Linked DNA regions of Homo sapiens: regions 1 and 3 are each linked to region 2. Evidence: promoter capture Hi-C in 16 types of primary human blood cells and fetal thymus (Javierre and others, 2016). All regions are on one chromosome and are shown on one strand. The core of a region is centred on a gene start or on the middle of the fragment in contact, and the rest is flanking DNA. Distances in the headings are between cores, read along the strand shown. Region 1 has its middle 4.4 kb from the start of TRG-GCC2-6. Region 2 holds the start of RANGRF (RAN guanine nucleotide release factor). Region 3 has its middle 19 kb from the start of ALOX15B.

Evidence for each region. Contacts are between HindIII fragments. The CHiCAGO score rates a contact against its expected background, and 5 or more counts as called.
Region 1: a contact is called between a fragment that was not itself captured here and the fragment with the promoter of RANGRF in region 2, in 9 of 17 cell types (non-activated CD4 T cells, naive CD4 T cells, neutrophils and 6 more). The highest score is 9.2, in non-activated CD4 T cells.
Region 3: a contact is called between a fragment that was not itself captured here and the fragment with the promoter of RANGRF in region 2, in 7 of 17 cell types (activated CD4 T cells, naive CD4 T cells, total B cells and 4 more). The highest score is 8.2, in activated CD4 T cells.

The regions. Positions count from the first base shown.
Region 1 is chr17:8,128,756-8,131,455 of GRCh38, reverse strand. No RefSeq gene overlaps it. Among named protein-coding and RNA genes, the nearest start is that of TRG-GCC2-6, 4.4 kb to the right of the region's middle. The HindIII fragment of the contact is 6,180 bases long and covers 1-2,700 here.
Region 2 is chr17:8,287,267-8,289,966 of GRCh38, reverse strand. It overlaps RANGRF (RAN guanine nucleotide release factor), which reads right to left and starts at 1,297. Exons shown (of 5, transcript NM_016492.5): 1 at 1,102-1,297; 2 at 895-1,011; 3 at 553-709; 4 at 379-464; 5 at 1-154. The coding sequence starts at 1,178. The coding sequence ends at 31. It also overlaps a transcript of SLC25A35 not described here. RefSeq lists enhancers at 575-644, 925-1,044, 1,405-1,634 and a silencer at 795-844. The HindIII fragment of the contact is 37,216 bases long and covers 1-2,700 here.
Region 3 is chr17:8,057,018-8,059,717 of GRCh38, reverse strand. No RefSeq gene overlaps it. Among named protein-coding and RNA genes, the nearest start is that of ALOX15B, 19 kb to the right of the region's middle. RefSeq lists enhancers at 1,971-2,040, 1,524-2,041. The HindIII fragment of the contact is 2,579 bases long and covers 1-2,566 here.

The DNA of each region.
Region 1 (2,700 bases), core at 10-2,509, 160 kb after region 2:
AAGCAATTCTCCTGCCTCAGCCTCCCGAGAAGCTGGGATTACAGGCACCACCACCATGCTCGGCTAATTTTTTTTTTTTTTTTTTGAGATCTGCCCACCTCAGCCTCCCAAAGTGCTGGGATTACAGGTGTGAGCCACTGTGCCCGGCCTCCCTTATTATTTTTAATTGACAAATAATTATATGTATTTATGGGGTAAAATGTGATGTTTCCATATAAGGATACATTGTAGAACGATTAAATCAAGCTAATTAACACATCCGTCACCTCATCTACTTATTTTTTCGTGGTGAGAACATTTAAAATAGACTTTTGAGACTCTGTCTCAAAAAAAGAAAAAAGAAAAAGGAAAAAATTACTTATTCTTGTTGGATACAGGTTAAAAAAAGAAAAAAGTGTTCATTCACTTATTATTATTATTATTTTTGAGATGGAGTCTTGCTCTGTTGCCCAGGCTAGCATGCAGCAGCGCTATCTCAGCTCACTGCAAGCTCCGCATCCGGGGTTCACACCATTCTCCTGCCTCAGCCTCCCGAGTAGCTGGGATCACAGGTGCCTGCCACCATGCCTGGCTAATCTTTTTTGTATTTTTAGTAGAGACGGGGTTTCACCGTGTTAGCCAGGATGGTCTCGATCTCCTGACTTCCTGATCTGCCCACCTCACCCTCCCAAAGTGCTGGGATTACAGGTGTGAGCCCCTGAGCCCGGCCTCACTTATTATTTTTAATTGACAAATAATTATATATATTTATGGGGTAAAATGTGATGTTTCCATATAAGGATACATTGTAGAATGATTAAATCAAGCTAATTAACACATCCATCACCTCATCTATTTATTTTTTCGTGGTGAGAACATTTAAAATAGACTTTTAATAATTTCATAATATACAATACGTTATTACTAACCATGCTGTGGAATAGATAGCAAAATCTCCTTCTTCATACACCCTCTTTTCTGGATTTCCAGAACACCCCACTCCCCCTGGTTTTCCTGTTGCCTCTCTGACCGCTCTAGTCTCCGTTGCCAATTCTTCCTCCTCAACCAATCTCTAGGTGTTGGGGTGCCCCAGAGGTCCATGTTCAGCCTTTTCTTTTCTTCTTCTTCTTTTTTCTTTTTTTTTTGTTTGAGACAGATTCTCATGCCCAGGCTGGAGTGCAGTGGCTCAATCTCGGCTGACTGCAACCTTGGCCTCCCGGGCTCAAACGATTCTCCTGCCTCAGCCTCCTGAGTAGCTGGGACTACAGGCGTGCGTCACTATGCCCAGATAATTTTTCTATTTTTTGTGGAGACGGGGTTTTGTCATGTTGGGCAGGCTGGCCTCGAACTCCTGACCTTAGGTGATCCACCCGCCTCAGCCTCCCAAAGTGCTAAGATTACAGGCATGAGCCAACACACCCGGCCCATGTTCAGTCTTTTCCCGCCACATTTTCTCTCTAGGTGCTCCAGTCTTATAGCATTAAAAGACGTCTATCTCCCAATCACTCCAGCGTATTTACCCTCCAGCTCTGATCTCCAAACTTGTATATCCCTAACCTATGTGTGACCTCCACCTAGATATCTTTTTTTTGAGCGGAGTCTTCCTCTGTTGCCGAGGCTGGAGTGCAATAGCGCAGTCTAGGCTCACTGCAACCTCTGCCTCCCGGGTTCAAGAGATTCTCCTGCCTCAGCCTCTGGAGTAGCTGAGACCACAGGCGCATGCCACCATACCCAGCTAGTTTTTGTATTTTTAGTAGAGACGGTGTTTCACCATGTTGGCCAGGTTGATCTCAAACCCCTGACCTCGTGATCCACCCGCCTTGGCCTCCCAAAGTGCTGGGATTACAGAAGTGAGCCACCGCGCCTGGCCAGGATGTCTTAACTAATATGGCTAAAGTATAATGCTTGATTTCTCTTCCTAAACCTCTCCCCGACCCCACAGGTTTTCCCATCTCAGTTAAAAGCCACCACCACCGTCTACCCAGTTACAGTCATGCGCTGCATAACAATGTTTTGGTCAATGATGGACTGCATATATATATATATGATTATAATGGGGATTGCCGGATGCAATGGCGTACGCCTGTAATCCCAGCACTTTGGGAGGCCAAGGCGGGCAGATCACTTGAGGTCAGGAGTTCAATACCAGCCTGGCCAACATGGTGAAACCCTGTTTCTACTAAAAATACAAAAATTAGCCGGGCGTGGTGGCTAATGCCTGTAATCCCAGATATTCGAGCAGCTATTCGAGAGGCTGAGGCAGGAGAATCGCTTGAACCCGGGAGGCAGAGGTTGCAGTGAGCCGAGATCCCACCATTGCACTCCGTCCTGGGCAACAAGAGCAAGATTATAATGGGGCTAAAAAAAAATCCTTATCGCCAGGCTCGGTGATAAGCACTTCGGGAGGCCGAGGCTGGCAGATAACGAGGTCAGGAGATCGAGACCAGCCTGAGCAACATGGTGAAACCCCGTCTCTACTAAAAATACAAAAGTTAGTGGGGTGTGGTGGCACAGGCCTGTAATCCCAGCTACTCGGGAGCCTGAGGCAGGAGAATCGCTTGAACCCGGCAGGCGGAGGTTGCAGTGAGCCGGGATCGCCCCACTGCACTCCAGCCTGGGCAACTGAGTGAGACTCTGCCTCAAAACAAAAAGGAAAAAAAAACCCGAAAAATTCCTATCACCCAAAGATGGCATAGCTATCATAACATTGTAGTGCCATGC
Region 2 (2,700 bases), core at 48-2,547:
TCAGCAACATCATGCAGTGCTTCAGCGCCTTTACTGGGGACCAAAGATGTTAGGATCGTGAAGGGTCAGACTGGTCACCAGCTGTTCAAAGTCACCCAGGCTCCAGGGTGCAGGTGACAGATTTTCGGGGCCAAGAGATGACCTGTTGTCAGGGCTTGGGGTGGGGGAACAGATGGAGACAGAACATCATCCAGGCCTGAGGTTTGGAAATTGCCAATTCCTGTTCCCCAGAGGACCTGGGTATCAGTTACCCCAAACCTCTGGCCCACTCCTGCTTCCTTGGAGGATCCCACCAGTGAGTCTCCCTGTTCTGTCCCTCCCAGCCCGATTCTCCTGGGAACCCAGTCATGAGATACCCGCCCGTTCCTTCCTCCTTACGGGGGCTGATTGAAGGTAAGCAAGAGATCAGTCTGGTACTGGGGCAGCCTCAGCAAGGCCTGATGAAGTGTCACGTCCTTTGCTACCTAAGGGGATCAGAGTCAGGATGCTTACCTGGATCTCTGCGTCCCCGCTACCGCCCTTCCAGGACATTACACACTCTCGGGCCCTCACCTGCTGGTTTTCCTTAGCTATCTGCTGCTTGCCAGAGAGGACCCAGGCTTCTTGACAGCGGCCCCTCAGGGCCAGGTTCTCCAAACTGAGAGGCTGAACAGACTCCACATGGACAGCCCTAGCCCCCTGCACGCCACCAACATCCTCAAAGTGGTACCTGGAGTAGGGAAGCGGGGTCAGGAAGGGACATCTCTGGTCGCCTCCCCGGGAGCATCTTTAAGTTGCAGGCCTGGCTCCCGGCCCGTGCGTGGTCTCACCGCCCGGATTAACCGTCGGCCGCGGGCCCCGCCCACTGGTCCGACCCCGCCCCTGCCATTGGCCAGCCGGGGGCCATTCCCTCACCGCGCAGCCGCTTCGCCCCGTACGTGGGCCTGCAGCTCGAGAAGTTCCACTATCAGGCTCTGGTCCGTCACGGGATGGCAGAAAACTTCTTGATTGTCCGGGACCGGTCGGAGGTCGCTGGAGTGAGGCGAGGCAGACCCTGGTTGACCCCGGTCTCTTCCCACAACCCACCCAGTCAGCCGCCCCTGGGCGCCCCGGCCTTCTCACCTTACGTCAATGGCCCCCATGGGGAGGATGGCGGAAAAGGCGCCCCCGAACAGCGGGCAGTCTCTCGTGGGCTCCATGGGTCTGAGGCTGGGTTATGGGCATTAGAAAGGTTTAAAAGAAGTCCACATTGGGTCACGTGGCATCGGCTCCCTGGGTTTCGCAGCTGCCACCGCCACCCGGGTCTGGCTTAGCTCCCGGATCCTTTAAGATTTGGCTCCGCCCTGCGCTCTCGTTGGCCAATCGGCGCCAAGACCCTGGGGGCGGGGGTCAGCGGCTTTGCTCCGGAAGCCGCGCTCTTAGGAGTGCGCCTGGCGGGACGGTGGGGTCTGCCTTGGGGTTGGACTTAGGGTTAGGGTCTATGTCGCCCCCGGTGGTCACGAGCATGCTCCCGCCAGCCTCCTCTTGATTGATTGATTGATTGATTGATTGACAGGTCTCGCTGTGTCGCCCAGGCTGTAATGCAGTGGCGCGATCACCGCTCACTGCAGTCTCCACCTCCAGGACTCAAGTGATACTCCTGCCTCAGCCTCTTGAGTGGCTCCTGCTCCCGCCACCACGCCCGGCTAAATTTTTAATTACTTGTAGAAATGGGGCGGGGTGGGGAGTGTCTCCCAATCTTGCCCAGGCTGGCCTCAAACTCCTGGACTCAAGCGATCCTCCCGCCTCGGCTCCCTAAGTGCTGGAATTACAGGCGAGAGCCACAGCGCCTGGCCTCCTCGTCCTTTTCAAGTGGTCACACCTTCCAAGAAGGTCGCCTGAGACCCTCCTGAGGGGCAGGTGCTCGTCAAAGGGGCCCACGTCTAGGTAGGGTCTCTTGAGTCAGGAAAGCATAGTTTCACGGTGTTCTGGGCCTCTGAAAGAAGAATGGGCTGCCACCCAGACCGCTAATTCATAGATCTGCTGCTGGGAATTAGGGGAACAATGCGTCCAGGTTAGGATTCAGGTCTCACATCTTCCTGAAAGTGAGAGCCAACCTGGGTATTAGAAATCTAATTCCTCTCAAATATTTGCCTTGGGAATGCTCCCGGGCAGGTGCAACCCCACCCCCAGCTCCACACACCTGGACAGAAGCACAGATTAAACCCTCTTTTGTTTGTCTTTTACAGATTTGTTGTGTTCTTTAAGTTTTAACTTCACTATATCATTTCAGTTCATTTCTCTATTCATCTTTGATCCTCAGCACCCGGCACGGTGTTTAGAGCATAACAGACCTGATATATATTGGGTTTTTTTGTTTTGTTTTGTTTTTGAGATGGAGTTTCACTCTTGTTGCCCAGGCTGGAGTGCAATGGCATGATCTTGGCTCACTGCAACCTCCGCCTCCTGGGTTCAAGCTGTTCTCCTGCCCCAACCTCCCAAGTAGCTGGATTACAGGCATGCACCACCACACCCAGCTAATTTTGTATTTTTAGTAGAGATGGAGTTTCTCCATGTTGGTCAGGTGAGTCTCGAACTTCCGACCTCAGATGATCCGCCTGCCTTGGCCTCCCAAAGTGCTGGGATTATTACAGGCGTGAGCCAGCGTGCCCAGCCCAGACCTAATATATATTGTTAAGTGATTGAATAAACTCAATGCAAATGTCTGGAACCCAGGAGATC
Region 3 (2,700 bases), core at 28-2,527, 230 kb after region 2:
AGGCTGCTTTTCCTTCACTGTCAGTACTGCCAAAACCACTTTCTCTTTTTACTGTACTTTTTTCTACTATTACATAAGGTAATAACAACAGCTGAGCAATTCTATCTCCTGGGTTTGCACTCCAAGGAATACTGGAACTAATAACCAATTGAATTTCTCCCACAAAATCTGAATCAATCAGCCCAGTATGAATCTGAACTCCTTTTAAGTTTAGACTAGATGTTCCTAAAACAAGTCCAACTGTCCATCAGGTAAAGGGCCAAATACTCCAGTGGGGACTTTTTGAGGGGATTTCCCTGGAAGCAGAGAGATAGCTTTTGGGAAACATAAATCTAAGCCTGTACTCCCTGCTGTAGCTGGCGCCAATTGTGTTACTGTGGTGGTTGGGCAAGAGACAATGATGGTGGTTGGACTAGAGGCAATGACCGACTGAGGGACCAACTGCTGGAGTGAGAATGCCCCCGTTTGGAGCGGGGCCTGAGGCTGGCCCCTCTTCCTGTTTCCCGACTGCGGTTGTAACGGTTGGCCATTTTTGTCAAATTTGAAGTGACACTGATTAGCCCAATGTTTACCCTTCTGGCACCTGGGACATAAGCCAGGTGGTTCTTTTATTTGATTATATCTTGCCTGTTTGTTCGATTTGTTCTTACGTTCCTTTTTTGTGTGTCCAAATTGCCCACAATTGTAACAATTGCCTGAAAAGTTTTTAATTGGACCTCCCACTTTTAACTCTGTCGTGGCTTGAACCATTATCATAGCCTTATGCATGATTCCACCAACTCCATTACATGCCCTGATATATTCATTAATCACATCAACTCCCACCGGAACCTTTCCTTTCACTGGGTGAATAGCTGACTGGCATTCAGGGTTAGTATTCTCACAAGCCAATAATTCTACAATCACCTTCCTGGCACTTTCTTTCTTTCTTTCTTTTTTTTTTTTTTTTTTTGAGGCGGAGTTTCGCTCTTGTTACCCAGGCTGGAGTGCAGTGGCGTGATCTCGGCTCACCGCAACCTCCGCCTCCTGGGTTCAAGCAATTCTCCTGCCTCAGCCTCCTGAGTAGCTGGGATTACAGACATGTGCCATCACGCCCGGCTAATTTTTATATTTTTAGTAGAGACGGGGTTTCTCCATGTTGGTCAGGCTGGTCTCCAACTCCCGACCTCAGGTGATCCGCCCACCTCGGCCTCCCAAAGTGCTGGGATTACAGGCATGAGCCACCGCACCCGGCCTTCCTGGCACTTTCATCAGTGAGAGCCTTCTGTGCTGCGTCTTGAAGGCGAGCAATGAAATCAGGATATGGTTCCTTTGAGCCTTGTCTAATAGAATTAAAAGACTGATAAGTAGTTCCCAGATCCTGAATTTTCTCCCATGCCCTCAAACAGCAATTGCGAATTTGTTCAATGGCATCATCTCGAAGTCCTGATGGTTGTTTACAGTTCCCCATTGACCCCCTATTCCTAGAAGTTGTTCAAATGTAATGGCAATAGCAGGATTAGCAGCACGGTTTTTTCGATCTTGATTTTGAGCCTCGTCGGTCCACCAAGTCTTAAACTGAAGAAATTGGGAGGGCGAAAGTGTAACTTTCGTTAAAATCTCCCAATCACACGGAGTCAATAGCTTATTCTGAGCCACAGATTGCAATAGCGATCGGATGAAAGGCGAATTGGGACCATACTGACCAACAGCTGCTTTAAGATCTTTGAGCAGCTTAAAAGAAAATGGTTCCCATACCGCTTGATGGGCTCCACCTTGCTGTCGTGGGGGTTGCAAAACTACTGCAAACTGCCAGGCATCAAGATCTCCGGCTAATCTAGCCTGCCGAATAGTAAACTGTAATGGCGATTCATTAACATTAGATGGCAGTGCAGCCTTATGTTGTACTGGTGCTACACCATGCGCTCGTGGTTCCTGAGGCCACAATTCATTCATTCGTGAAACAGGGCAAATTTGAGATTCAGACCTCCAAGGCTCCAAGCTACATTGCTTTATTGGAGGCGGCCACTCCGGATGATCCCAATGAGGAGCCGACTGCTCCTCAAGGCCCTTCTTTGTTTTAAACATCTTGGCATATATGGCTTCTCTATTTTAGGAGCAGCTGAAGGTCCCACGTGCTCCTCAAAAGAAATTAACTCATCTCCAGGTTTGTCTGTATTTTCCTCAAAATCTTCTTCACTATCCTCTCCTCCTTCAGCAGCATCACCACCTTCCTCTGCAGAAATTCTTTCTGCTGGAGGATAAGCCTCATTTTCCGATTGAAACGGTTCCGAGGCTGCTTTAACTATAGCCCAGTTTGACCAGGCTGTTAGGGGGATAAATTTTCCTTCCTTACAAACTTGTTTTAAGGCAATTCCCACCTGTTCCCAATCTTTGAAGTCCATGGTACCATGTTCAGGAAACCAAGGACGATATTGCTCTACTGTTGGAAACAGAGTAATCAAATTTTCTGTGCTAGCCTTAATTCCTGCCCTCTTTAAGAGGAGCTTAATAAAATGTAAATATGCAGAATGTTTACTTTTGGATTGTCCCATGGTGTCCCTGGAATGCTCCGAGTGCACAAGCTTACCGCAAGGCCGACCACACGTTCTCGGGAGTTCCTGGACAGACCGTTCTTCACAACGACCACGCTCAGGTGTAACTTCACCTGGGTTCAAGGAGACCGTGTTGGGTGCCAAAGATGTAGGGGAACCTGCCTGA